Linked DNA regions of Homo sapiens: regions 1, 2, 4 and 5 are each linked to region 3. Evidence: promoter capture Hi-C in 16 types of primary human blood cells and fetal thymus (Javierre and others, 2016). All regions are on one chromosome and are shown on one strand. Each heading gives the region's core, a stretch centred on a gene start or on the middle of the fragment in contact. The rest is flanking DNA. Distances are from core to core; before and after follow the strand shown.

Region 1 (6,167 bases), core at 74-2,573, 1.5 Mb after region 3:
GTAAATACGATAACGTATTGGTCGTTGTGACAGGACAGTGTACCTGACTATAAACTCCGTGTGTACCAGGGCCATAATATCCACATCTGTTTTGCCAGCCAGTGTAATGGCTCTTTTAAATTTTTCTGTGTGTATTCTGTTTGGTTGAAGAAATAGCTTCTTCCTGTCATTACTAAAGCTAACTCTCTTTTGAGCAATTCATTGTGTACATTCCCAAACCTTGGTCTTAGGCCCTTCTTTCTTTGATGTAGTTCTAAGTCAGAAAAAAAATCTCGTATACCCTAGTAGCATCTTCAAGTATATGTTTCATTTCATCAATCATTGTTATTCCACAATTCTAAAGAGTACACTGTGCTAGGCACTTCCAAATGTTAATAGGATGGACATGGCCTGGAGAGGTGGCTCATGCCTGTAATCCCAGCACTTTGAGAGGCCAAGGCGAGCGGATCACTTGAGCTGAGAAGTTTGAGATCAACCTGGGCAACAAAGTGAGACCCCGTCTCTACAAAAAATACAAAAATTAGCCAGGCGTGGTGGTGCAGGCCTGTAGTCTCAGCTACTCGGGAAGCTGAGGTGGGAGCCTCACTTGAGCCCGAGAATTTGTAGTGAGCCAAGATTGCACCAACCTGGGCGACAGCATGATACCCTGTTTAAAAAAAAAAAATTAACATGACACAAAACCCTGTGTGTGATTTGTTATTGTTGTTGTTGTTGGGTTTTTTGGTTTTGTTTTTTTGAGACGGTCTCACTCTGTCACCCAGGCTGGAGTGCAGCGGCATGATCTCAGCTCACTGCAACCTCCGCCTGCCGGGCTCAAGCGATGCTCTCACCTCAGCCTCCCGAGTAGCTGAGACGACAGACATGAATCATCTTGTCCAGCTAATTTTTGTAATTTTTGTAGAGGCGGGGTCTCACTTTGTTCCCCAGGCTGATCTCAAACTTCTCAGCTCAAGTGATCTGCCTGCTTTGGCCTCTAGGTTGCATTTCTTCTGTGAAATAAAAGGCAAGTTTTTCTGTAGAGAAGGAGCTGTGGAGGTGGTAGGACAAGGGGCATGAGTGCGGAGAAGGTTTGAAGATCCTTTATGCGCAATGGGAGAGGAAGATTAGAGGGAACTCAAGAAGACATGGCATGTCTTCCAGCTAAATGTGGAGCCCAGTATCTCCAATGTGTACTGCTGTGTAACCACAGCCTGGAGACAAGAGCAGAGAAGGCAAAATTGTTCTTTTGATTCATCAATGAATGACCACTATTGCTCCCTAGAATAGCATTGTAGGCCTTTCAAATTAAGTTCCTATTTACCTTACTTATTTACTTCCCAACGTTATCAAGTTCCTTTTTCTTCCTTAAACATCTTTATACCTCGGCTTTGTGAGTGCTCTTCCTTTTGCATTCTCGACCTTCCCCTGGCTAACTTTTGTTTGCTGTTAAAGACACAACTCATATATATAATATAAATATATATATTTAAATATAAATATAAACATATATAAATATAAATATATATATATATATATATTTTAAGATAGAGCCTTGCTCTGTCACCCAGGCTGCAGTGCAGTGCCATGATCTTGGCTCACTGCAACCTCAGCCTCCCAGATTCAAGCTATTCTCATGCCTCAGCCTCTCAAGTAGCTGGGATTGCAGGCGTGCACCACCACCACGCTGGCTAATTTTTTTTTTTTTTTTTGTATTTTTAGTAGAGATGGGTTTTCACCATGTTGCCCATGCTGGTCTTGAACTGGCCTCAAGTGGTCTGCCCGCCTTGCCCTCCCAAAGTGCAGGGATTACAGGCATGAGTTACCGTGCCTGGCTTCAAATGTTATATTTTTAAAATAGTGGCCCAGGCTGGGTTGCAGTGAGGCAGACGTTGCAGTGAGTTGAGTTTGCTCCACTGCACTCCAGCCTAGGTGACAGAATAAGACTCCGTCTCAAAGAAAGAAAGAAAAGAGGGAGGGAGGGAGCGAAGGAAGGAAAGGAAGAAGGAAGGAAGGAAAGGAAGAAGGAAGGAAGGAAGGAAGGAAGGAAGGAAGGAAGGAAGGAAGGAAGGAAGGAAGGAAGGAATCCTGAATACTATAAACAAGATTCTTCTATGAATGTATTCTTTAGAATGATCTAAATATGTGGCTGGGCATGGTGACTCACGCCTATAATCCCAGCACTTTGGGAGGCCAAGGCGGGTGGATCATTTGAGGTCAGGAGTTCGAAACCAGCCTGGTCAACATAGTGAAACCCTGTCTCTACTAAAAATACAAACATTAGCTGGGTATGGTGGTGTGCACCTGTAATCCCAGCTACTCTGGAGGCTGAGGCAGGAGGCAGAGGTTGCGGTGAGCTGAGATTGCGCCACTGCACTCCAGTCTGGGCAACAGAGTGAGACCCTGTCTCAAAAACAAAAACAAACAAACAAAAAAGAATGATCTAAATATTTTTAGATAATCATAAAGACTATGTTAGATTAATACAATTATTTAAAGAAGATGATTATGGTCTCTGTTTAATACCAGCATAGGTGTAAACCTTGTCAGTGAATATTACATAATTGATACCTCTCAAAAACATTTGTCAGATAAATGTTTCCACATCATTACCATTGTTAAAAGAGAAACTAAGGCACAGTAAAATCTTAAAATGTTTATTTGAGCAGACAGTGATTCATGAATCAGTTTGGGACTCTGTTAAAGGCGCACCAAAGAAAGGCTTTTATAGGGTGAATGTGGAAGCATGGCAAATAAAATACACTGAGTTGGGTTTTGGTTTGCTTCTGTAGGAACCCAGGGTGCTGGAGCAGCCTCAGTCTAATGGCCTCTCTATTAATTATTTTAACATCATAAAATAATGTATATCATGTTGCAAAATAAAGCTTTTAGAAGGTTTCCAAATACAATAAAAACCAAATTATTAGGGTACATAGAATTCTATTTGTGGGTTAGAGTCTATTTTTATTTTTACTATTTATTTATTTTTGAGATAGGGTCCTGCTCTGTTGCCTAGGCTGGAGTGCAGTGGCACAATCATGGCTCACTGCAACCTCCCTGTCCAGGCCTCAAGCGATCCTCCCACCTCAGCCTCCAGAGTAGCTGAGACCACAGGTTCATGCTACCATGCCCAGCTTATCTTAGTATTTTTTGTAGAGATGGCATTTTGCCTAGGTTGATCTTGAACTCTTGACCTTAAGTGATCCTCCCACCTCAGCCTACAGAAGTGCTGAGATCAGAGGTGTGAGCTACCACACCTGGCTAGAATCTATTTTTATATTGTATATTTATACTTATGTATTTTTTATTTTAAACAATATTTTATAGTATAAATAAATAAAAATATTTTATTTTATAAAGTGGTGCATGCTCCTAATCCCAGCTTCATTAAGGAGACTGAGATGGGAGGAACACTTGAGCCCAGGAGTTTGAGACCAGCCAGAGCAACATAGCCAGAGACCCTGTCTCTAAAAGCAAAAAAGAAAAAAAAAGCCCTTTTCCAAGTTATTACACACTCTGAATAATTAATATTGAAAACTGTTGGCCGGGCGCGGTGGCTCACGCCTGTAATCCCAGCACTTTGGGAGGCCGAGGCGGGGCGGATCACGAGATCAGCAGAACGGCGTGAACCCGGAAGGCGGAGCTTGCAGTGAGCTGAGATCGGGCCACTGCACTCCAGCCTGGGCGACAGAGCGAGACTCCGTCTCAAAAAAAAAAAAAAGAAAGAAAGAAAACTGCTACAGAAACTTTCACCTTGTGAATGCGTAAGGGTTTACTAAATCCTGCCTATTCCATTGTTCTTATAAAAATAGAGCCATAGACATTTTAGTTTATACCTGGAAAATATTTTCAGTACTTTGAATTGGTTCTCTAGTATAGATTTCCAGGCATGGAATTATTTACTCAAACTGCGTGAACATTTTAGTCTTTGAATATAAATTGACAAATTATTTTCTTTTTTTATTTTTTGAGACGGAGTCTTGCTCTGTTGCCCAGGCTGGAGTGCAGTGGCACAATCTCTGCTCACTGCAACCTCTGCCTCCCAGGACTGATTTACATAATCAGTCCTTATGGAAATAATAAACTTGTTTCAAGTTTATTATAAACAAAAATGAATCTAGGAATTATGTTAATTTATAAGCATCTAATGAGCTGTATTATAATGTAGAGTTATCCAAGACTCAATTTTATGCAAGTTAAAATAATAAATGAAGGGTAGCAAATTAGAGAGCCTATAACTTTTGAGCATATATTCTATTGCTGCTTCAGCAAAGTACCACAAACCTAATTAGTGGCTTAAAACAAGATACATTTATTAATTTAGAGTTCTGGAGGTTAGAAGTCTAAAATTGTTTTCATGTCTGAGTTTCTTCTGGAGGCTGTAGAAGAGAATCAGTTTCCATGACTTTTCCAGCTTCTATAGGCTTTCTGCATTCCTTGGCTCATGGCCCTGGCATCCCTCTGACATCTATTATACTGGCATATTTTCTTTGTCTTGGACACTCCAGCGTCCCTCTTATAAAGACCCCTCTGATTACATTGGACCTAGAGGATAATCCAGCATAATCTTCCCATAGTAAGATTATCCTGGATAATTTAATCACATTGGCAAAATCCCTTTTGCTCTGTAAAGTAACATATTCACAGGTTTTGGGGATTAGGACATGGACATCTTTTATTCTACCTACCAGGAAACATAGATCTAAATTTGTTTAGAAATGGAGAACCTCGAGCCTCACCTCAGACTAAATGAATCATGAACTGTATTTTAACAAGATCCCTATGTGATTCTATGAACACTTAAAATTTGAGAAGTACTATCTTTGTTTTTTATTTTTTTTTGAGACAGAGTTTTGCTCTGTTGCCCCCAGGCTGGAGTGCAATGGTGCAGTCTCGGCTCACTGCAACCTCTGCCTCCCGGGTTCAAACCATTCTCCTGCCTCAGCCTTCCGAGCAGCTAGGATTACAGGCATGTGCCACCACGCCCAGCTAATTTTTGTATTTTGGGTAGAGACGGAGTTTCTCCATGTTGATCAGGCTGGCCTCGAACTCCCGACCTCAGGTGATCCGCCTGCCTCAGCCTCCCAAAGTGCTGGGATTACAGGTGTGAGCCACCTCTCCAAGCCTGAGAAGTACTATCTTTCAATAAAATCAGAAGATACAGTTAAGCAAAAAGAAAATAAAGCATGGTCACAATACCCATCCAACTAGTGATAAACCCTCCTAGCATTTTGGCATTTATTTATTTCCAAAAGTGGGACATTCTGAACATAATGTTTTGCAACCCTCTTTTTTCACAATGCATTGTGCATGTGTAAACATGTCAACAAATACACTTCAAGATAATTTTATTTTGTTTAATTAATTAATTAATATATATTTTTTTGAGACAGAGTCTCCCTCTGCCGCCCAGGCTGGAGTGCAGTGGCACGATCTCGGCTCACTGCAACCTCTGCCTCCTGGGTTCCAGCAATTCTCCTGCCTCAGCCTCCCGAGTAGCTGGGATTACAGGTGCCTGCCACAAAGCCCAGCTAAATTTCTGTATTTTTAGTAGAGATAGGGTTTCACCATGTTGGCCAGGCTGGTCTCGCTCTCCTGACCTCCAGCAATCCACATGCCCCGGCCTCCCAAAGTGCTGGAATTACAGGCATGAGACACTGCGCCCGGCCTATTTATTTTTTCTTGAGATGGAGTCTCGCTCTGTCGCTTAGGCTGGAGTGCAGTGGTGCGAACTCGGCTCACTGCAACCTCCGCCTCCCGGCCTCAAGCGATTCTTCTGTCTCAGTCTCCTGAGTAGCTGGGATTACAAGCGCATGCCACCACGCCAGGCTAATTTTTGTAGTTTCAGTAGAGACAGGGTTTCACCATGTTGGCCAAGCTGGTCTTGAACTCCTGACCTCAGGTGACCTGTCCGTCTTGGTCTCCCAAAGTGCTGTGATTACAGGTGTGAGCCACTGTGCCCGACCTCAACATAATTTTAAATGGTCAATTTGTATTTTATTATGTATGGATGTATTGTGATTTAATCATTTGTGTCATTGGTGGTTGTTTAGGTAATTTTATCTTTTTACTTTAAAAAACAGCCCTTGTGTGATCGACATTCTTGGAATGCAGAGCTTGGTTCAAATCCTAACATGGCCTTTTACTAGCTGTTTGACGTTAGGTGGGCTACTTGACTTCTCTGTGCTTCA
Region 2 (5,650 bases), core at 765-3,264, 1.1 Mb before region 3:
CACACACACACACACACACACATATGCCTGTCATTGGTTACCTTTCCCCCGGGGAATTAAAATCCGTATGATTCAATAAGGTAGATTTATTTGCCATTAGCAGACAAACATGAAAATAATTCCTAAGCCAATAAAATTATTTTCAAGTTTTTCAGTTTTCCTTTTTTCTTATAATGGCAAGAACATTTGACTAAGAGTCTAGCAGGGGAAAATACTGTATTCACAAAAGCAATGGGAAAAAAACTCAGGCCTGTTAAGGAAACTCTCCTATAAAATCAAATTGCAAATTTTTCAAAGTTGCCAATGCTTGGCACATCACTGTCTGGGCAGGATAATCTGTTCTTACCAGTCTCAACTCAGAAATAACCTATTTATGATTGCAACCATCATCTTGGCCTCAGGGAGGCACTATAGGTCCCTTAATGTATCTAAGGCACAGCTGAAATACTTAAAAATTACCTCTGAAAGTCTGAAACATGACAGAATGGAAAAAGAACTCACAGAAGATAACATAAAACTCTATATTCTGTCCCTAAGTTAATGTAAGAGATTCATACGCCTTAGGAAGACGAGATAATTTAGCGATTGCGCTTAGAAAAATAAGTAAATAAATATGAGTTAGAGATATGGTTGGTGACACTTTTTTTCCTCTGGGTCTCTTCCTTATTTTCCCCTTGTTCCTTCCTGGCACTAGGGGGCGGCAAACGATGGGCTCCTTTATTTATAAAAAAAGACAGTTTTTATAAATAAAGCTTTATTGGGACACAACCATTCCCATTTGTTTACTTATTGTCTGTGGCTGCTTGCATGCTGCATCAGTCAAGTAGTTGCGACAGAGACTGTCTGTCCCACAAAACTTAAAATATTTATGCTTGAGCCTTTTACAGAACAATTTGGCTGACCCCTGCATGCTATCTATAGTATTTAACAATGGATATGAAAGTGACAATGGTAGATCTAAGGAACTTCGATATGTGTCCAGCCAGCCAGGATAGGGGCCAGCTTCCTAAGACACATGTCTAGAATATGATGAAATCACCACCTGCCAGTGAGTCACATGCAGGCAAATGACACCAACAGAAGAAACCTAGGAAGCATATCCAGAAACTATAAAGTATTGGTCATGAACCTTGCAGGGGAGGACATAACTGGTGTTCGCATCTCTGCTTCCAGTTGACAGTTCACCAAAGATAAAAACAACAAATAAAATCCAGACCTCTCGCCACAAAAGGGGGTTTGGCTTCAGGCAGGGGCTTAGGGCTCTCTGCTGGGGACCAGCTGCACTTCACAATGCTGCAAAGCCTGCATTTGTTCAGAAATGTAATTCCTGATCTGATTATAAGAGTTCAAAGCTGAAAATGTGGTAAGGAGGAGGAAAAAAAAATGGGTTATGATGGAAGATTTTGTGGTGGTGGTAAGGGGGCATGATAATAATAATATTGAAGAAGTGCCCTAGTAATTTACATGAGAAGGGACCAAGAAGGTGGCTAAGAACAGCACAGAGTCTCAGATATACACACGTTTTTGCACAGAGTCTGGCTAATAACACAAATGAGAGATTTTAGCATAATAATGCTGTATTATCAAGGAAATAGACATCCCATCTGTGGGGAAACTGTCAACATGAGAGATAATTGTGGTAGAGAAGAGATCTAGAAATGAAGGATAACAAAAGAAATGAAATAATAGGCGCAAGTCCCTGGCCCTCCTATGTGCCACAGTCCAGGGGAACAGGAGAGCTGATGGGAGACCTCGGTTGGGAAAATCTTATCCATTCCAAAAGGAGGAAAGGTCAATCTCTGAAACTATTTCATAGTTGATTTTAGTATTGGTCCCTGAAAACATTTCAGAACTCACTTAATCAGCAGATAGTTTTAGAACGCAAGAGGGTGAAGTTATGCTCAGGGCAGCAGGCCTGGTTGGTGAGGATGGACCACAGGTACGGTGTGGAGGGTAGGTGGGTAGGCTCCAGAGCTAGTCTGCTGGGTTCCGAGTTGGCTGTCTTACTTCCTAGCTCTGAGACCTCTGCAAGTTACTTAACTTCGCTCTTCCTCAGTGTTTTTAGTTCTCAAGTGGGCATAGTAATGAAATGGGGTGGTTGTAGGGATTGAGTTAATACATATAAAAGAGTTAGAACAAATCCAGCTGAGACTAGTGCCATGCAATTGTTAGCTAGTGTTCCTGGTACAACTATCAGACCAGGGGCCAGGAGAATGCTACAGACCTGGCTGAAACTGAATTTCAACAAAGCATTTCACAAATGCATACAAAATACAGCCAAGGACCTGCTGGAAAAGTGGTCTGAGGAACACAAATACATAGATTCATATTTGGTTTTACAACTAGAAATTCATTTCAGCCTAAGGAGACTTCTTTAATTTCAAGCCTTGTGATTATCCTCAGCCCTGTCCTGATCGACATTTTTCATCAAGAAGACCTGAAATTATTTTATTGTAAAAATTGTGAATATTGTGAAGTATTCCAAGCATACAAAAATAACTTTCGGGATTTAGAACTGACAACAATGTGGAAAAGCCATACATATCTAAAGCACGAGTGAATTCTTTCTTACTGAACCTATTCAAATAAAGACTGAAAGACCTGGCAGTGAAGGGTTGGAAGTGTCACATGAGGCATATATTGAGATGAACTTTGAAAATTCTATTCACACATGAAGATGTTTATGAAGTATTTTATATATGTTAGGCATTGTCTTAGGTACTTGGAATGTATGTAAACAAAATAAACACCTGTCTTGTTGGACTTACATTCAGGTGGACTCCTTAATAACCTGTAAGTTATAGGAATTACTAGATTTTGGTTTAATTCTGAAGTTTGTCACTCACTATATATAAACCTGATAAGCTCCCTCGTTTTTTTCTCATCTGGAAAATGGCGATAAAATGCCATCCTTTCATATTTAGGATCATTCATTCGCTCAACAAGTACTTCCTACTTTGTGCTATGCTCTTGGGAAAAAAAATGAATGAGAGAAGGATCCTGCCCTCATGGTACTTGTATCTTATATTATCCAGAAGATAAAATAAGGCACTTACCAAAAATACTAACATTTACATATCAATGAAAGGCTATGCCTATTATATCTAATGATAGCAGCATGGCCTGTGAGTCTTTGGTCGTCTTTTTGGGGATATACAATGTATATTTTGGCTGTTACCTAAGCCATTCTCCAATATTACACCCCTCACTACCGCTATGTACACAGATAGTCTGCTCCACACTCAGAAAGGTAGGGACAACACCCTAGGATTTCCATAAAGCTTAGAAGGATTTCCTTCCTAAGAAATACCCAGTTTTGCTGCCAAACACTCCTCCCCTCCTACATGAAGGCCTGAGTCAAGAGATATCGTGGGTGGGAGAAGTTACCCTGCATGTCACCAGAACCTCAGCATGCACACTTTAAAATGAATTTCCAAATGCAAATTTGTTCCTAGATCCACAGCATGGCAAGTGAGATGCAGAAGCCTGGTTCCTGGAGGAGGAGCCAGCATTGATTCGTGGAGGGCAGTGTCCTCTCACAGGGGTAAGTGAGCAGGGGTAAATCATCGTTCCCATGAACTCCTCTCCATCTGCTCTCCCCACTCTGGGAACACTAGTGTGCTGCTCCACCTCCTTCTGCCCCCTCCTGGGATGGGCTCCAGAGGATGATAGGCAGGGCACCTAAATTCCCAGCTGACGGAAACGTGAATGTGCTCAGTAGCTAAAGGTGGCTCAGGAAGTTTGGAAGATTAGATGAGATGGTTCTCCCTCTCCCTCATTTAGATCACACACATTTTCCAACATGTAGGGGAGAAGAGGGAGCTCTGTATTTTTTATTTATCCAACAAATATGTATTGAACATCTACCATGTGTGGGACAGTGTCTTAGGTATTAGGAATACAACAAAGAAGAACCTCAAATCCTTACTGGTATTTAGATTACTAATACCGGGAGGAGTGGGAAAGACACATAGTAAACACATTAATGACCTATTAAATATATGCTGGGTCACCACTATGGACTGTATTGCGTCCCTCACCCCAATTCATATGTTGAAGTGTTGATATGTTCCCATCAATTCATATATTCCTATCAGCTCATATGTTCATATGTTGAACTCTCAATGTCACTATATCTGAAGATAGGGCTTTTAGTCAGTAAATAAGTTTAAATGTGGTCATAAGGGTAGGGTCCTAATCTGACCTTATAAGAAGAGGCAAAGAGCTTTCTCTTTCTCCCTACACAGGCATGCAGGCACGCGCGCGCGCGCACACACCCACACCCCCCCCCACACACACACAGAAAGGCCATGTGAGGACATAGTGAAAAGGTGTCTGTGTCTGCAGGCCAAGAAGAGACCCATAACCAGCACTGAACCAAGCTGGCACACTGATCTCAAGCTTCCAGCCTCCAGAACTGTGAGAAAATAAATGATTGTTATTTAAGCCACCCCATCTGGTGTTTTGCTTTGTAGCCTTGCTAACACTGTCAGGTAGCCCTAAGTGTGCTGAAGAAAACCCAAGTGGAATAAAGGGGTGGAGAGAGATCAAGAGAGGTGGTTAGGGAGACACTCTGAGGAGGGACATTGAGCAGAGAGCCCAGTGAAGCTCACATGTATCCAAAGGCAAGCCCTGGCCTGGAGTTTAAGAATGGCAACACTCAGGCATGGCAGGGTTTGTCCTTAGAAGCAAATGGGATTGCTGTTTTATCAGCATGTTTTTGAAAAATAGACTGTTCTCTTGCAGAGAGGAAATGTATAATTGGTGATCGCCTAGCTGTGTGAGCTTGGGCACGTTCCTTAAATCTCATGTCCCAGTTTGCTCAGTTGTGAAATGGGATAATAATCATCTTTACCTTGTTAGGTTGTTGGGAGGTTTAAATGAGTTAATATATGTAAAGTGCATGGACCCATGCCTGAAACACAGTCAGTGCTCAATAAATAGTAGCTATTATTATTGCTATCAATACAACTACTATCTCTATTATTACAACAACTGCTACTACTATTACTATTGGAAAGCCACAGGCAGAACATTATAAAAGAAATTTCAGCAATGGCATCTTTCAATTAAATCTTTTCTGAGCATCTTGGGCCTCACTACCTCTGGGAAAATAACTTTGCTTCTTTGTCTCCCTCAGCTCCTCAGAAGAGCCAAACCAATGATTAAGCTCACGTGTTGTGAACTGCAAAGTCATTTGAACAATTTCAAAGCCATCAGTGACAAAGGCTTTCTCCTGATGGATCTTTCTGCCCATTGAACTAGAACACTCATGGAAACATGTTCAGGCTCCCTCACTCCATGTAGGTCAGACTACAGGTAAAATATCCTTTCTGGTGCCAAAAACTCTTATCAGGATGAAGAATTTTCCTCTAGTTTCCCTGGGGAAGAGCAAAAAAAAAAAGTAGATAAAAAAAAAAACACAAGAAATAGAGTAGCAGGAGTGAAGGAGAAAAATTGAAAAGAAAGAGATAAATAGGGGGGGAATTTTAAGGACCATTAGTAATTTACTGTGGTCCCCAATGTTGACACAAGCAATCAAAATGGACCTGGAGAAGGGGATTATATGGGCTGACATTGTCTACTTTGATCTATACGTGCCTTATATTGGTAGATCTTTAAAGAAGTTACTTGGTATAAAGTTTATTTG
Region 3 (6,213 bases), core at 2,487-4,986:
CTGTGAACTTGAAGATAGATCCATTAAAATTATACAATCTAACAATATAGAGGAAAAAAGATCGAAGGGAAAAAGAACAAAGCCTTAGGGATCAGAGGAACAATTATAAAAGGACTAACATTTTTGTCATTGGAGGTCTAGAAGGAGAAGAGAAAGAGTGTAGTGTTGAAAAAACATTGGAAAAAATGGCTGGAAAGTTCCCAAGTTTATGGAAAGATATAAGTCTACAAGTTCAAGAAGCAGAATGAACCCTAACTAGGATAAATCCAAAGAGATCTGCAACCAGACACATCATAATTAAACTGCTGAAAACTAAAGACGAAGTCTTCAAAGCAACCAGAGAAAAATGATAAATTACCTATAGGAAAACAATGATTTGAATGGCTGCAGATTCCTTTTCAGAAACCATTAGACCTACTCTAAAAAAATTGATAAACTATATTCTTCAGAGACAAGAAAAAGATATAAGAAGGAAATTTGAGGCATCAGGAATAAAGAGACAGCAACAGAAATAACTATCTGGTTAAATATAATGGCTACTTTTTTCCTTAAAATATGATTGATGGTTGGAAAAAATTATAATGTCTGATAGAGTATATAATGTATGTAAATATAAAATATAAGACAACAATATATATATGGTGCAGGGGAAAGGGTGATAAGGTTTCTATATGCCAAATGAAGCAGTAAAACAATGAAATGATCCGAAGTAGACAACGAAAAGTAAGTATTTTATAATTCCTAGAGCAGCCACTAAAGAATTATACAAAAAGATATAGTCAAAACCATAGTATATAAAATAGAATACTAAATAATGTTCAAACAGTCAAATGAAAGCAGGAAAGGGGAAACATAAATATGGAGCAGCTAGCACTCTCACCTATTAGTGGTGGGACTGGAAAATGCTTTTGGAAAACTGTCAGTTTCTTAAAAAGTAAAGGATTTATCTAGTAGCTCCACTGTTATGCATTAACTTCAGAGAAATAAAAGCATATGTTCATACAATGACTCATACATGAATTTTCAGAGCAGCTGTAAATGTATTAGTCCTGAACTGGAAACAACTCAGATGTCCATCGACAAGTGACTAGATAAACTGTGGTATATCTGCACAGTGGGATACTCCACAGCAAAAAAAAGGAATTGATACATGCAATAACATGGAGAAATTTCAAAATAATGTAATTATGCTGAGTGAAAGAAGCCAGACAAAAAAGATTCCATTTATATAAAATACTAGATATGCAAACTAATCTATAGTGACCTAAAGCAGATTAGTAGTTTCTAGAGAAGGAAGAGGGTAAAGCAGAGAAAGAAGGGAGACAGGGATTATAAATGACCGTCAAAAATTTTTTAGGGTTATGGATGTTCTCTTGATTATGGTAATGGTTTCAAAAGTAAATATATGTCAAAATTCATCAAATTGTATATTCTCATTTAATGTGCAGGGTATTGCATGTCAATTATACCTCAATAAAGTTGTAAAATGTTTTTTTAGAGGGTGTAAACTGTGAACACTGCATATCAGTGTTCATCCTTTTGCTCTTACATGATGACAAGGAAGAACAGTAGACATCTCCTATGAATAAAATGGAACTATATAATTGTTTAAGCAAAAACATCACTTAATGATGGAAATATTTTTAAAAAAATTTTAGGCTGTGTGGTAGCTCGCACATATAATCCCGGCACTTTAGGAGGCAAAGGCAGGAGGATCACTTCAGCCCAGGAGTTCAAGACCAGAATGGGAAACATAGGGAGACCCCATCTCTACGAAAAATTTAAAAATTAGCTAGGTGTGTGGGCACATGTCTGTGGTCCCAGCTACTTAGGAGGATGAGATGGGAGGATCATTTGAGCCTGGAAAGTCGAGGCTGCAGTGAGCTGTAACTGCACCACTGCATTCCAGCCTGGGTGACAGAGCAAGACCCTGCCTCAAAAAAAAAATATTTTTTTAATTTTTAAATACTTTATTTGTCTTAAACGTATAAGCAATCCTCACTTGGCACAGTCTGATATGAATTTCAGTTACCACAGTTTATTAACCGTGAGAAATAGCATAAAAGTTTGCTACTAGCTTTTCAGTTCACAAATCATTACATAAATAACATATGAATCAAAATTGACCAATTTGCAATTTTACTTCTTTCAAAGTCTATGGGTGATTGGTCACTGTGCATCTGTTATTCAGTTCACACACAGGCTGCAAAGCATGGAGGTTTGTTATTAATATTTCTGTGCCCTTGAGATAAACCCACATGGAATTTTACAGATTAAAAGAGGAAATTGGCCAAAAGAATGAAAGTGCACTAAAGAAGAGTGATAATACTAGAAGTGAAACTTGCATTAAACATAAATGGAGCAAATGAAAAAAAAGCTGCCTGTGGGAACATGCTGATTGTGGCAACAATGACACTGCCGCCATTTGAGACATTCTAGATATGCAGACTGAGGAAATCAGTGAAGGTGAACTTATAGACATAAATGAGGAAAAGTGATTGTGATGAAAGGCTGATGATGTGTCAGAGGAAGTGACACTGGCAAAAAAAACACATTAAAGGAACTCTCAGAGATATTTCACAACATTGAAAACGTAATGGATAAAATGTTGGAAACTAATATTTAAATTTCTCCAGAACGCAGAACTCATAAGCAACTGTGTTCTCCAAGTAAATATCTTCACAGGTTCCTCAATTAATGTGGGCAAAATTAAAAGTACAACTTGCTTCTTCCCTTTGGAAAACCCTCTCTCAGAGTATATTACCAACATTCAACTTCTTATACAAGGCATAGATCTGGGAATCATTATTCATTCTTCTCTTTTTGTCATTCACGTATCCACTCAATTTCCATGGCCTGTTGATTCTATTTCTCAGACGTTGTTCAAATCTCTCCACTATCTTTATTCTACTTGGCAACTCTGTGGCCCAGGCTTCCAACAACTCTCTCCCGGACAAGTGTAATCACAACAGTTACCTAACTTGGCTCCCACTCTTGTTCTCAGTTGCAACCCATTCTCCAAGCAGAAAACAAAATGCAATAGCTGTTACCTTATTCTCATCTTCACACCTCTACTCAAGTACACAAGGCTCTTCCTCATCTAGTTTCTGTCTACTTCATCTCTTGTCAATGGTCCCTACCCCAATTCTCCGCTCTAGTCATTCTGAACTTTGTTCAATTCCTGGCCTGTGTCCTCTGCCTTTAATAGGCTGCCTGGCACACTGTAGGAATTCACTAAATATGCAGACTGAATGAATGAACGAGTCCGTGGAGGGCAGTTATTCTTTGGAGTAACTTAAGAGAGAAGGAATACAGTACAACGAAGTATTCTTATTTAGGTTTATAGTGTCTTCACCTGAGCCCGCGGGGGAACCCCCCCCCCACCCCCGGGGAACCCCCCCCACCCCCGCCGCCCCCCGCCTGCAAGTTGTTACCAGTAAATAAAAGGGATCCTATTTTAGCAAGCCACACAGCATTAGAGGGCAAATAATAGTTTGGTGGCAGGAGAGCGATGAGACGGGAAAGTGTGGGGCAAAGCTTACAGTCATTGGTCCAGATTCTAACTGGCCTGTTAGCCAAAAAGTAAGGTTTTCTTTACCTCCGTGTTGACTCTGCTCTCCGAAGGCGAAGAGGGTCCTCCAAACCCGTTTGGCGTGCGGACAAAAACCCCAGCATATCGTGTCCTCACACCGGCTGGAGCACTGGACGTCGCCATGACAGAGCTCAGGGGCGGGACTGGAACAGCAGAGTCTCCCATTGGTCAGTCGGTGATATATCCGGCCAATGGTGAGCGCCGTTACTAGAAGGGCTCCAGGATGGAGGCCGACCTGACTTCTCCGCCTCGGTGGGCTGGGTCGGCGGCTGGAGCATTACCCCTACTGCGGGTCCCGCTGCTGGCAGCGCTGGAAACTGGGTGGACGGCATGGGTTGGTCTCAGGATTTGTTCCGCGCCTTGTGGAGATCGCTGTCAAGGGAAGTGAAGGAGCACGTGGGCACGGACCAATTCGGGAACAAATACTACTACATCCCGCAGTACAAGAACTGGAGAGGTGAGGTGGCGGCGTGGGCAGCGATTGCGTGGTCAGTGATTGCGAGGTCAGTAAAGGAGGGAAAAGTGAGAGCCCCTAGTCAACTAACGCATCATGCGACACTTAGGGTGTCACCGGAGAGAATTTCCCGAGTTCGTTCTCCCCTGTCGACCCCTTCACTCTGGCATCGGAGCCCTACCCGGCCCGGCTCTGGGCGCCTTGGCCCGGCCTCGTGCGTCCGCGGTCCCTACTACCCAGCGCCTTCCCCCGGCGTGCCCCGGGCTGCTTGCGCTGTTAAGGCGCACCACCACTTTCCTCCCAGCCACGCCTGTAGAGGAGCCTCAGTTTTAGCCCTGGACTGGCGACGGAGGCAGGGAAAAGTCCACGGAAATCTTTCACCAAAGGGGCTAGAAGGGCCAGGGGAGGGGTTTTTCGTACGCTGTTCCCCGCCTTGTGACCCAGAGCTGAGTGGTGTAATTGAAGAGGAGTATCTTCAGCGCCTCGGCTGTCTTCTTTCTTGGTGTTTACCCTTTTCGGTGGCACCCTGGCTCCGGCGCTGGCCCCATGCGCCTTCCTTACTACCAAGACTTGTCAGAAGTAGGTCCATATCCCCACAAGGCTCGCTGATTCCTTTCTCGGGAGTTGACATTCCAAGACCCCGTTGAGCTCAATTTAAGAAACGTGGCAATAATCATGGTGTTACTGTGTAGGATTCGTGCCAAGTAGTTGAGCGGGTTGTTTGGGGAGTAAGGAGGCGTTGCTGTCCATTGAAATCACACTGTGTAGCCGCCGTCGTAACCTCTTCTGTGTTGTTCCATCGCCGCATGCAGAAAATGTCAGGTTTTGGGCGAAGAGGCGTGGGTTAGAATCTCAGCTTTGACACCTGATAGCTCGGGAATCACGGAAAAAGTACTTGTCCTCTCCAAGTCTCAACATCCTCACTTGAAAGTTAGAGATAATATAAGATCAGCAATGTTGAGAAGCACTAAGACCTTTCCAAGATTATGTGCCATTCATTTCCCACACATATAAAATGTATTCTGTGATTTATCACTCAATTAATTTATTTTTGCCTGGCCTTTTTCTGTAACTTATTTTAATATTTAGACTTGTTTCCCTAATGAGCTCCTCTGTCAGGCAGGGAATATGTCTCACAAAAAAAGAAAAAAGCCTGCAAAGAACATAGCATGGTGTTAAGTATTTCTTGACAGGTTGCAAGCAGAGAGATGTTTCTTTTCCATAAGTTGTCAGTAAAATTAAAAATATGCAAACTGTCAGACTGAGTTTTTTTAAATTGAAATATAATTTACATACAGTAACATTCACCCTTTATGGTGTACAGTTTTATTGTTTTTGACAAATGAGTAGAGTAACCTCACTGGATTCAAGTAATAGAATAATTCCATCACCATCAGAATTTCCTCCAACTCCTTAGTAGTTCATTCCCACACCCTTTGGCAACTACTGATGTGTTTTATGGGCCTATAGTTTTGTCTTTTCTAGAATATCATATAAATGGAATTATACAGGATTTAGACTTTTGAGTCTGGCTTGCTTCACATAGCATAATGTAGCTGAGATTCATCCATGTGTCAGTAGTTGTTCCTTTTTATTGCTCAGTAGTATTCCATTGTATGGGTTTGCCAGTTTATCTGTTCACAAGCTGAAGGACATTAGGATGTTTCCAGTTTCTGTGATTGTGACAAAAGCTCTACAAACATTCCCATACAGGATTTGTGTGAACGTAAGTTTTCATATCTCTTGGGTAAATATCTAGTAGTGGGATTACTAAGTTGTGTGATCAATGTGTGTTTAACTTTATGAGAAACTACCAAACTGTTTTTCAAAGTGGCTGTACCATTTTGTATTCCTGCCAGCAATGCATTAAAATTCTAGTTGTTTCCACACCCTCACCAGCACTTAGTATTATCTGATTTTTGGGTGTGTTTTTATTTTTATTTTAGCCATTTTGATAGGTATATAGTGGTATCTCATTGTGATTTTAAGTTTCATTTTCCTAATGCCTGAGGATGTTGACAGTCTTTTCATGTGCTTATTTACTATCTACAGATCTTCGGTGAAGTATTGTTCAAACCTTTTGCCCATTAAAAAATCCATTTATGGCTGGGTCCGGTGGCTCATGCCTGTAATCCCACCACTTTGGGAGGCCGAGGTGGGTGGATCA
Region 4 (5,877 bases), core at 1,976-4,475, 1.4 Mb after region 3:
ATAAATGTAACAAATACATTATTATATTTATAATGGTGAATTCTCTCTGTCTTCTAATAGGACGTTGATGCTACAAACCCAAATTATGAAATTATGTGTATGATCAGAGACTTTAGAGGAAGTTTGGATTATAGACCATTAACAACAGCAGATCCTGTAAGATTCTTTGTAAACCATTATTCTGGAACTTTTTATGCTTCAAATAAAAACGTGTTTGACACTTGCTAAATTCATATTGTGTTCAGCTATGTAGTTTTTCCTTTCCTTGTGGGTGCTCATTCCCCATATTTTAAGAAGAAAATCAAGAAATTATCCACATTAATGCTTATTTTCCATAATTTGGTATATGAGATATGCTCCCTATAGAGATGTCCTTCTCGAAGCAAAACCTCCCTGTCTTTGGGAGGGCAAAGCAACACTTAAAGGAGTGATAGCAGAAGACTCACTTTCCTTTCTGACTGTGAGTTATACTTTGATCTCAGTTCCAAGCTTATCTTTGTCTTGGGCTGTAGATCCCACCATCATTTCTAATTTACTATTGGTAATTTGTTAGTTTTAAATGTTATTCTGGCTTTTAACAATAAGTGATGGTTGTTGAGGGCTGCAGTGGACCAGAAATCTAGAACTGGAAAAAATCCTCTGCTGTTATTACTCAACTCCTTTGCTGTTGATGAATGAGAATTCATTGGACAGGGAGTGCCTTTTTTTTTTTTTTTTTGAGATGGAGTCTTGCTCCATCGCCCAGGCTAGAGTGCAATGGTGTGATCTCCGCCTCCCAGTTCAAGCGATTCTCCTGTCTCAGCTTCCCAAGTAGCTGGGACTACAGGCGCCTGCCACCACGCCCGGCTAATTTTTGTATTTTTAGTAGAAACGGGGTTCACCTTTTTGGTCAGGCTGGTCTCGAACTCCTGACCTCAGGTGATCCACCCGCCTCGGTCTCCCAAAGTGGGAGGCCTGTAATCATGCCTGGGATTATAGGCGTGAGCCACCACGCCCAGCCGGGAATGCTTTTATAACTAATTTGTACTTATAAAAATAATCCATCTGACATAGCATATACAGAATGTGTTAGTTACAAAAAAGACATTTGTGTTAGATAGATGTATTATATAGAATTGAATAGAATTGTTGATAATACTTGTATCCCACATATTTTAGGCCTTGCTATTCCTTCATGTGTTTCACTTACTGCATTAGAGCTCACCCTTTAGGACAGGAATTGGCAAACATTTTCTGCAAGGGTCTTTGGCTTTGGAGCTATATGGTCTTTGTCACAACTACTGAACTCTGTCATTGTATTGTAAAAGCAGCCATAGACAATACATAAATGATGGGTATGACATTTGTTTCAATCAATGTGTGTCAGTAAAATTTTGCAGAAGCAGGTAGTAGCTAAATTAGACCCACAGGCCATACTGTGCTAATCCTTGCTTTATGTTAATTATTATTAAAATGAGGCATGTATTGGGAACAAAATTTTTATAAAAAATACTTATGCATAAGAATTGGCATATTTATAAAATAGTTCAAATTATTTGGCTCAGTAATCGTCTGAGAATCCTGTTTCTTGCCATAGTTATCTTTGCTAGCAACTTTCCCTATGATCAACCTATGAAAATATGTCACTTAGTAGAATAGAAATGTTGACTTTTGTTGTGTATAGCACATCTTGAAGTGGATAATACAGCTTTTTTTTTTTTTTTTTGGAGACACAGTCTTCTCTGTTGCCCAGGCTGAGGTGGAGTGGCAGGATCTCGGCTCACTACAACCTCCACCTCCAGGGTTCAGGCAATTCTCGTGCCTCAGCCACCTGAGTAGCTGGAATTACAGGCATGCACCACCATGCCCAGCTAGTTTTTATATTTTTAGTAGTGATGGAGTTTTACCATGTTGGCCAGGCTGGTCTTGAACTCCTGACCTCAAGTGATCCACCCACCTTAGCCTCCCAAAGTGCTGGGATTACCCACCATGCCTGGCATCACAACTTCTTTTTTTTTTTGGTCCAGAGATAAAGTCTCACTGTCACCCAGGCTGGTGGGCAGAGGCATAATCTCGGCCCGCTGCAACCTCCACCTCCCAGGTTCAAGTGATTCTCCCACATCAGCCTCCCGAGTAGCTGGGACTACAGGCATGCACCACCACTCCCGGCTAATTTTTATATTTTTAGTAGAAATGGGGTTTCTCCATGTTGGCCAGGCTAGTCTCAAACTCCTGACCTCAGGTGATCTGCCCACCTTAGCCTCCCAAAGTGCTGGGATTATAGGAATGAGCCATCATGCCCGGCCTCCTCACAGCTTCTTAATGTGAACTTAATGCTACTAACAATAGTAGTACCCTCTACAGAATTATTTCCTAAAGTGATGGTTTTCCAAATAACAAAATAAGCAAGTTTCCATTACACTCAGAATTTTAGAAGTAATTATATCTGACAACCATTAAAATTTGTGCAAAGCTAATTTGTTTTTTAAGCTTACCTATCATTTATGCTATGTATAAATTTCTAAAACCCCTGGAGGAAATATTACATAATTTACGTTTTAGTGTTTTACATGACACTAATAATCACTGAAATAAAATACTTTTTATTTCTAGATTGATGAACATAGGATATGTGTGTGTGTAAGAAAACGACCACTCAATAAAAAAGGTATGGCACTTAATGAGCTCTAATAAAAGATTGATTTTATCTTATTTGTAATGTATTTTTATAATAGCAAATCAAATTGGTTTGGAAAAAATGTAAATCATTTCCTTTGATTTGTATGTAACCATTATGCAGATTTCTATGGCTAAACTTGTCAGTTTGTTATTGCTCTGAATCATTGCCATTCCGAGTCTTGCTTCACAGAAATCTTGATTTTGTTTTTACTTTGCTGTTGAAATATTTTGTCTTAGTGAGTTGCATTTTTATGGGATATTATCTTTATATGTACAGAACTTACTACTTGTATCTTAGTTCTTACTACTTAAAATAATTTTGTACATGAACTCAAATGCTGTGAAAATTATTGGGCATTGATTTTCATTTATTCTTTTAGAAACTCAAATGAAAGATCTTGATGTAATCACAATTCCTAGTAAAGATGTTGTGATGGTACATGAACCAAAACAAAAAGTAGATTTAACAAGGTACCTAGAAAACCAAACATTTCGTTTTGATTATGCCTTTGATGACTCAGCTCCTAATGAAATGGTTTACAGGTAGGTAAATTCATTTTAAATCAGAATTTTGTTCTTATGCCATGTGGTCATCAGCACCTTGAAATTTACATTGATTGTGGGATATTTCTTAAGAGGTGCAATATGCTGTTTTATTCTGAGTTTAAACAAAGAGAATGTAATAAATGCTGTAATGAATATTAACACTTGTTCTCTGTAATGCTCCCCAAAATCATAGTTTCCATTACTATTTGCTAATTAGCTTATTACACATATATATACATATATATACATATCACACAAACCATGTATATGGATAAGAAATTTCGGGAAAATGTTAACATTACCTCTAGGAATAGGATATGATAAGAAGACTTTTAATTTTTACCTTTTAATCTCTGTACTAATAAAGAAACTTGAAATGTTTGTTTGAGGCATGGTCTTGCTCTGTTGCCCAGGCTGGAGTGCAGTGGCACGATCACAGCTCACTGCAGCCTCGACCTTCCAGGCTCAGGTGATCCTCCCATCTCAGCCTCCTGAGTAGCTGGGACCACAGGCATGCACCACCACACCCAGCTAATTTTTGTACTTTTTGTAGAGTTGAGGTTTCGCCATGTTGCCCAGGCTAACCTCAGACTCCTGAGCTCAAGTGATCTGCCCGCCTTGGCTTCCCAAAGTGCTGGGATTACAGGCATGAGCCACTGTTATGCCTGGCCAAAATACCTGTTATCAGTTAATTATTAATTTATCTAAATCTGTATTTAGTATGTATTGTCACTTAAGGCGAAAAAGTTCCGTACTTGTATTTAAATTTGTCATCTTTAAGCTTGGAGATAGTTTTAGTACATGAGATTCTTGTATGTTTTCTGTATTCAACTTAAAAATAATTCAAATTTATCTGTGTTATACATTGGTATCTCAAATTTTTATGCCAGATTTAGATTTTCATACGTAAGTTTGCAAACATTCATTTCTAATAATTATAACACCAGTTTTAGCAGTATTGTTATTTTGGTTTATCTAGGAATATTACTGTCTTTGTAATTGCTTGAATACTATATCTGATTGCCCTTTTTCATAAAAATGCCTAGAAAGGAAAAAATTAGAGTTAATGAGACTAAGAATTGAAGGTGTTACAAAGGAAATACTTTTGAGACCAACTCTTTTTGTCTTCACCAAGTGTACTGGGTAGTCAGTTGTAAAAAAAAAAAGGATCAAATTAAAGGACATATGAATACTAGATAGAGATATTTGTGAAGAATATGTTTAAAGGGGAATCATAATTGTTAATTGTAGAATTTTTTTTTAGCTTTCTGAAGAGTCCACTTTTCCTTTTCATTCCCTCTTTCTACTCCTGCCTCATAAAATATAAGTTTGACTTTTATAATAGTTTTTAAGAAATTATTACAAATACAGGCATGTTTCTGTGTGTATGATTTAGTAAACATTGTGTTTTTACCCTATGTTTATGTTTCTTAACTTTATCAATATTTATCCTTCTCCTCTATCTCTTATACTTAACTATTATGGATTGAGGAGTTACATGTTTTTTTGTGGGTAGGGTTGGGAGGTAGGGGTTTGATCTACTTAGCAGGCTCATCCCTAGTTCTGTTTGACCAGAACTTTTTCCTGCTCCTTTTGTTCTGTACTTTCTTCAGTTTTGCCTTTTACAAAACAAAACAAAGACAGCAGTTATATAAAATGTTCTACTTGTAGATCTGTTTTCCATCTTTTTTTTTTTTTGTTTTTTTGAGGCTGAGTTTTGCTCTTGTCGCCCAGGCTGGAGTGCAGTGGCATGATCTCGGCTCACTGCAACCTCTGCCTCCCAGTTCAAGCGATTCTCCTGCCTCAGCCTCCTGAGTAGCTGGGATTACAGGCGTGTGCCACCACGTTCAGCTAATTTTGTATTTTTAGTAGAGACGGGGTTTCACCATGTTGGTCAGGCCGGTCTCGAACTCCTGACCTCAAGTGATCCACCCACCTCAGCCTCCCAAAGTGTTGGGATTACAGGCATGAGCCACCACGCCTGGCCTCCATCATACTTTTTAGTGTACTGCTCAGGGGAAAAGTACTTCTTATACCTTCCCACCTTTTTATTTTAACTCTAGCAGTGGGTTATACCAATACATTTGAAATATAATTCAAGGCCGGGTGCGGTGGCTCATGCCTGTAATCCCAGCACTTTGGGAGGCCAAGGCGGGCAGATCGCCTGTGGTCAGGAGTTTGAGACCAGCCTGACCAACGTGGTGAAACCACGTCTCTACTAAAAATACAGAAATTAGCTGGGTGTGGTGGCAGGTGCCTGTAATCCCAGCTACTCGGGAGGCTGAGGCAGGAGAATCACTTGAACCCGGGAGGCGGAGGTTGCAGTGAGCTGAGATCGCGCCATTTGCACTCCAGCCTGGGGGACGAGAACGAGACTTCGTCTCAAAAAAAAAAAAATGTAATTCAAACCATAATATTTAGGTATCCTTTTCCTAAATTGAGAGTGTCAACTTACTAATAGAATTCATTTTCCTACAAGCACAATTTATATTCTTTTTGCTTAAGTATAAATTACTTGTCTAAATTCAAGGTAATCAACATTTTTCTATTTATTTAGATGGTCTATAGATAATATTTTTGCAGTTTTTTTCCTCTATTAACTTTTTAAAATTGAGATTACCACTCTTGTTTATTCTGTTTCTGTTGAAATTATAATACTTTGTGTTTGTTTTT
Region 5 (6,067 bases), core at 2,578-5,077, 1.9 Mb before region 3:
ATGTGTTACAGCCAACCCTAGCCTTGGCCAAGAATTCAATAATTTTCCTGCTTCAATGCCATCAACAAGCAAGAAACATATATAATACCAATACAGGAAATACAGCTAGTTGCTCCTAGAGCATCATTTAAAAGCTGCTAATTGGCTAAGATGCCTTTTATTGAGAAGTCTAAGAAACAGAAATAATGTGTTAACCCAGTTTGTTAAATGGGTTTGAGGAATCAGTTTCCTCCTTCCTAATACCTAAATCCATCTCCATAATAAGTATTCTCTATCACCATTTAAAAATCCTGATCTCTTACTAGTGTTTTTATTGTGCTTTTCAATCTATTAGAGTAAATTTTTTAAAACCTCAAGAGAGAACACAGAAAACTGTCATAATTTTTCAAAGGCTAAAGGAGAATAAACTGAAAATATCAGTTTGAACACGTGTATGTAAAAAGAATGGATGGTAATAAAACTAACAACTGAAAAGCAATGTTTCTGACTCATTCATTCATACTCAAGAAATATCAAATAACTGAGTGGAGATGATGCAAGCTGTACACATTTCCAGTTCAGACTGAAGGTGTGGCAACACTCACAGGGGCCTTCCGATCAGCTGCTCCAACTCAGTTTACAGCTTTTGTGGATGTGGCTTATTCATGCCCTTGTTATGAAGAAGAAGGGTAACTTTACAACCTTTAGCAAGAGCTTTTTTTTCTTTCTGTGCTAACCCTTTTTTGTCTATAACAGTCATGTAAGCTTAGCACTGATTTAGAAATAAATAAGTTAAAGAAGACACGAATGGCTTGGACATTAAAAGTTTAAGCAACAGCTTAAGCTGAGCTAAGTTTAATGTTAAAAATTAGTGTGACAGCAATAATTTTTCAATTCAGCTCTGTCGTGGGCTAGGAAAAAATATCCTAATTTTTCAGCCACAAGACATAAACATTGCTAGAATGACTACATTTTGAAAAAATTATCTTCTCACTTTACCTAGATTTCATTTTAACCAAACAGACCAACCTCTCCTATTAAACCTGTAAATTAACTCAAAGTCTAATCTGGGGCCTTCATAATAAAGATTTTTTTTTTAAATCCCTGTCTTATCTGGTGCCTTTAAAAGAAAGGAATCATTTTAGGCAATTATTATGACCTAAAAAATTTTTAAATCTTAACGTATAGATTAATTCCTTGACAGCTGAAGTCATTTACAATACATTATTAAATTTCACATTCAGTTTTAAATCCAAACATAGATCTCAACATTAAGAATATGGATTTTAGGGAAAGTAACTAGCTGCTCAAATTCATTTAGCTGAAAAACTACTGTCGAATCACCTTGAAAATATACACTAATGCTTGCACATTGCTAAGTGGCTTTTGATTCTGCTCTTCATTTTCTTACACAGAATCAACCACACAATAGAATTAAGAACTCAGGCCCATGGCAAAGTGCTCCCATTTAGCAGTTAGGACACTGGACATATTCAGCATATGTCTACTGCTATTGAGAATCAAATTATGAAAACAAACTATATTTTATAAAACTAAGAATTTGTTACTCAGATGAGAATAAAGGTGCCTAATGCTACAGCAGGGGGTAAAAGTCCCAGTAAGAGAGCAATAATTGGTCATTCTGATGAGGAGCTGTGCCAAATTTAGAAATGAGGCACAAATGACAAAAAAATTGATCATCAGTGTGGACATGGGTAGGTCAGTGTGCATATGGGTAGGTTAGTATCTGCTGGCCGTGTCTACAGAGCCCCTTTTATTTATTTGAAGCCAACTTTTCACTTGACAATGCTACCTACAAAAGCACTGTTAATAGATAAGACAATCAAGTGGCTGTTATGCCGTGGCCTTTTTGTAAAAACTGCATGAGAACAGGTGGGATAAAAACCATAGAAAGGTAGAAAAAAAAAAGCATCACTCATTTAAAGATATGTGCACATAGATGAACTGTAAGATAATATAACCTTCTTGACCTTGTAAATAGGTGGCCAAAAATACTTAAATATCTTGACGAGGCAACTATTACTAATTGTCTCACAACATTACCAGTCCTTACTGGCTGAATCCTTCAGCCATCTGCATACGACATGCACAGGCAAATAGCCACTAAAAACATACACAATTCCAATTATCTCCTTGCATAACTAAAGACAAAAAGAACAGGAAATCCAAAAAATACAGCAAAACTGAAAACACTATACCTTGCCTTCCGTGCTATTTTAAGGCTGTCCCAGGCTGAAGGTTACTTCTCAGCCCTCAAAACTCCATTAACTGCCAAGACCAGCACCTTAGCACATATGGCACAGATGCCTAGTTGAAGCCTCCTTGTACTAAATGACCTCAAAAAACTGGGCTTTCTTTCCAAGATTAATGGAAACAAAAGTAATGATCATAAGGAACCTTCTAACTCTGTTAATGTTTCCTGCGGATATGTATGGCCAACTGAATATATAAAGGCTCAGTTCTTGCGGGGTACCCTGACAACTAGATGAATTAGGGTGAAGGTTCCAAGTTCGATGAACTCTTCTGAGTTTGAGTGCCCTAGGTGGTGACATTCAAGTGATTTCACAGACATCCACCAATTCTTATTTTCAACCGGGAATCCCAAGAACACCTTTAAACATGCAATGCCCATGGACCCTACTGGGTTTCTGCTGCAAGGGCTCAGTGTTACTTAGGAACCCTGTGTCTTGGGAGATACTTAAATTTAGCACGTCAAATTGCTTTTGGAAAATGTTTATCTGGCGTGACTAGGGGAGGCAAAGCAAGGAAACAGGAACCTCCCTCTAAGGAGCAGAATAGCCAACATGCAGTAAGCCTAAAAAACCTCTCAATTTATTTCCCGGGGCTATGGGTACCAGTGGCTCGCCGGCATGGGAATCAGCAGCCTGGGGGCACCAGTGACAGCAGAACCGGGGCTTACCTTGTTGGAGGCCATCTCACTGACGGAGTGCCTGGTCTGTAGGGTCTCTAGCTGGTCCAGACACCAGTCCAGCTCCTCCAGGGTCTCGCTGGCCAGTTTCTGGTAGGCCTCCTCTGCGAAGAGACAGGGAAAGGGGGACTCAGTTCTCAAGCGCTTCACGGGTCCGCTAGCGAGTTCAAAGGGGGCCATCCTGCCATACCCCGCCATGCTCGGATGCCCGGTGCCGGCACATGAGGGCTGCTCCTTCATATTGCCCAGCCCGGCAGTGCAACGGGGGCGGAGGCTGTGCTCGCGGGGCGGCCGGCCTCGGGGAGGCACGGTCTCTCCAGCTTGGCGTCTCGGGTCGGCCTCCAGGGAGGGCGTGCAAAGAGCGGCGAGCCAACTTTCACACAGCGACGCGAGCGGAAAAACCACTATGCGACTTTTCAACTGTGCGGCGGGCCCGAGTCCCAGTCCAGGAGCCCGGCTCTAGCGGATGGCGAGGGGGTGGCGAGCGCGCTTGGGTGCCCGCCCCGCAGAGGAGCGTCTGGTCCACAGCCGGATCTCCTCGGTCCCCAACCCGGAGCCGCGGCCCCACGCCCGCCCCGCCTGCCGAGCCTTCTGCACGGCACTTGAAGTGAATGAATCAGCCGCGGCCGGGTGCGCGGCCACCACGTTTCCTGTTTTCTTTCTCAACTCCTCGGGCGGCAGGCGCAGCGCGGCTCCAACGCCGCAGCTTTCCGGGAACACTCCCCCTCACGCCCCTCTCGGCCCTCGGCGCTGCCTGGCTCCTCCTCAACCCCCTTACGAAAAGATTCCGAATTGCAAAAGCCTGTCCCTGTCCGTGCCACCCGCCGCGTCCTTCCCCTCGAGCTCTGCCCCGGGGGCCCCGCCACCTCGCAGTGCCATCCCCCCGGCGCAGCCGGGCGCCACTCGCTTTGAAGTGCAGACGAGGAGGCGCGGGCGCGAGCGTGTGTGTCTGTGGGGCTGCTGTGGGACTGTCTGTGCTAGGAGAGCGGCGGAAAACCCGGCGTGGAGCGCCTGCAGTCCGCCGTCCGGGGTCGCGCCCGCCGCGGGGCTCAGGAGGGACCGGCACGCAGGCGCGCACGGCCGCGCACCTGTCTCGCTAGAACCCCGCGCGCCCCGCCGAGCCACTGCCCTCCAGGTTGCCCAGACCGCTGGAGCCTCTGCGACTCCACGACCGGCTGCTTCCTGCGAAGTTTCACAAACAAGGTTATTTAGGACCCTCAAGGTTTCTGAGGGTTTAAGTTTTAGGGTTTCTGGGGGTTCGTTTCTAAAGGCTTAGGATTCACCTACTTCAAGGAGGCAGGGTTGTGGGAATTAAGACCGCATTCTTTTTCTACCCAGCCCAGTCCCTACTAAGTACCAGACTTCTAAATGTTGGGGCGGACAGAAACAAGCAAACAAAATATACAATGTTGTGGGGTCGGAACGCTTTATAATTCACAAATTTGACAATAGGCTGCATTTTCATATGCCGAATTGCCTAAGAGTTCTCTTAAAGGAACAGCAATGTGAAAGAACCACATGGTAAGGAGAATTTACGCATGTCCTGCATACTACTCCTTTCCCCTGTGAATTGCATAAGACCTAGATGATCTTGGGCCAAGGAAGAAAATCTGGAAGGGTGTTTCTACCCACCATGTGCAGAGTACACTACAATTTTGAGAAAACGGAAAGACCATATTCAAAGGCATACAGAAAAGCCTGTTCTGTTTACAAAGGCTGACCCAGGGCACCAGGGACACTGTCCCTAAGCAGATCAGTTGTGGGAGAACTTTTCTACATTAGCATGCAATAAGCAAACCATTCATAGTGAGGAGAAGTCAAACTCCCAAGGGTCCATTTGATAAAACTTTGTCATTGTCGAGTGGAAAGAAGATACTGAGAAACTTACACTAAGTGGTGGGATCCCTTGTCTTTGTCTTTGAATCTACAGGTATTGGAGAAGAAATTCTGCCCTTGAAATTTAGACTCCATAAATTAACATGGCACAACAAATAAAGTTCATGGACTGAATTTAGGCTCCTGGGATTTTTGAGATAGCTTTTTATGTGAACTTTGTAAAAGTTAGAGTAACTTTTAAAGTAGTTGTTACATGTGCCACGTGGCTTATTGTTATCAAGAATACTTGAACTATTTACTGTTCACTTTGAGTACTCTAGGTTAAAATTTGCCTCTTTTTTGTTCTACTTCCTCCACCCCGCAGTCTATGTAAATATATACTTTAGATGGACAAACAACTGCCTAAACCTTGCCAGGTGAATTAAAGTTTCAGATTGAAGCTTTTTTTTCCCCCTTAACAAGCTTAAAGATATTAATAATTTTAAATGGTAAATATAAAATACCTGCTCTGTATAGCTTCCCCAATTCTAAGAATGTAAAAAATATTACATGCTTGTTATAAAAATTGAAGCATTACACACAAATATAGGAAGTCCATTGTAACCCCACACCCTAAAGATCACAAACAATACTTTCGCCTATGGCTCTAACACAATCATTTTCATTTTACTGAATAACTTCCATATGCAAGTATAGCATCACCTAGTTGCCATGGTAGTGCATCTACTATATGGTTTGGTTTTGATATTTTCCTCTCTCTCTCATTCCCATAATATAGGAATGTAGGAAATTTTAAGAGGACATTGACTTGTTTTATGATCATTTGAGCTGTCCATAGTTAGCCTATCCAGTGGATTAAAGATGCATAACCATTGTGTCTGGGATTTGTTCAGTGCCATCTTTTCAATCATTGGTTACAATGAAGCTGGGAGTCCCCTCTGAGGTTCGGCTTTCTGTGGCTCCTCTCCCCTGCACTCCAACTTTCTCAAAGCCTGAGCCTCAAGTGATTTCCCAGTAGCTAAGTAAACTGCCCCCTTCCTCCATCTTCACCAAGTTCCCAAAGCTGTTCAGACTCAGGCTTCAAATCTAACAGGATGTGGCTCCACACATTATATTTCAGTTGTTATTTTTTAATGTGGAAAATAATTCAGGAAAGTTTTGGCTAATGCTTCAAGACATCATGCACTTTATACACAGGATTTGTTCTTAAGAAGGTAGTATAGTGACAGGAGGAACAATTTACTTCAGAATATCCATTTTATGTCCAAGCCATGCACCAGCCACTTTTGACAGACAGGATTT

The links. The method cuts DNA at HindIII sites, captures the fragments that hold promoters and counts their contacts. A CHiCAGO score of 5 or more calls a contact.
Region 1: a fragment that was not itself captured here is called in contact with the fragment with the promoter of ERCC8 in region 3 in 5 of 17 cell types (fetal thymus, monocytes, naive CD4 T cells and 2 more); the score reaches 6.5 in fetal thymus.
Region 2: a fragment that was not itself captured here is called in contact with the fragment with the promoter of ERCC8 in region 3 in 1 of 17 cell types (monocytes); the score reaches 6.5 in monocytes.
Region 4: a contact is called between a fragment that was not itself captured here and the fragment with the promoter of ERCC8 in region 3, in 1 of 17 cell types (non-activated CD4 T cells). The highest score is 5.4, in non-activated CD4 T cells.
Region 5: the fragment with the promoter of PDE4D-AS1 here is called in contact with the fragment with the promoter of ERCC8 in region 3 in 3 of 17 cell types (total CD8 T cells, naive CD8 T cells and fetal thymus); the score reaches 5.8 in total CD8 T cells.

Annotation. Positions count from the first base shown.
Region 1 is chr5:62,405,022-62,411,188 of GRCh38, forward strand. No RefSeq gene overlaps it. Among named protein-coding and RNA genes, the nearest start is that of DIMT1, 4.2 kb to the left of the region's middle. The HindIII fragment of the contact is 3,071 bases long and covers 1-2,859 here.
Region 2 is chr5:59,813,461-59,819,110 of GRCh38, forward strand. All of the region lies in intron 1 of PDE4D (phosphodiesterase 4D), which reads right to left. Among named protein-coding and RNA genes, the nearest start is that of PDE4D, 77 kb to the right of the region's middle. The HindIII fragment of the contact is 2,529 bases long and covers 751-3,279 here.
Region 3 is chr5:60,941,334-60,947,546 of GRCh38, forward strand. It overlaps ERCC8 (ERCC excision repair 8, CSA ubiquitin ligase complex subunit), which reads right to left and starts at 3,737. Exons shown (of 12, transcript NM_000082.4): 1 at 3,599-3,737. The coding sequence starts at 3,675. It overlaps NDUFAF2 (NADH:ubiquinone oxidoreductase complex assembly factor 2), which reads left to right and starts at 3,872. Exons shown (of 4, transcript NM_174889.5): 1 at 3,872-4,049. The coding sequence starts at 3,923. RefSeq lists an enhancer at 4,508-4,637. The HindIII fragment of the contact is 6,619 bases long and covers 3,536-6,213 here.
Region 4 is chr5:62,355,099-62,360,975 of GRCh38, forward strand. It overlaps KIF2A (kinesin family member 2A), which reads left to right. Exons shown (of 21, transcript NM_001098511.3): 7 at 61-156; 8 at 2,593-2,647; 9 at 3,039-3,201. Among named protein-coding and RNA genes, the nearest start is that of DIMT1, 46 kb to the right of the region's middle. The HindIII fragment of the contact is 1,516 bases long and covers 2,468-3,983 here.
Region 5 is chr5:59,035,939-59,042,005 of GRCh38, forward strand. PDE4D-AS1 (PDE4D antisense RNA 1) reads left to right here and starts at 3,828. Exons shown (of 2, transcript NR_198970.1): 1 at 3,828-4,132. PDE4D (phosphodiesterase 4D) reads right to left here. Exons shown (of 15, transcript NM_001104631.2): 6 at 2,921-3,033. RefSeq lists a silencer at 3,197-3,266. The HindIII fragment of the contact is 4,461 bases long and covers 743-5,203 here.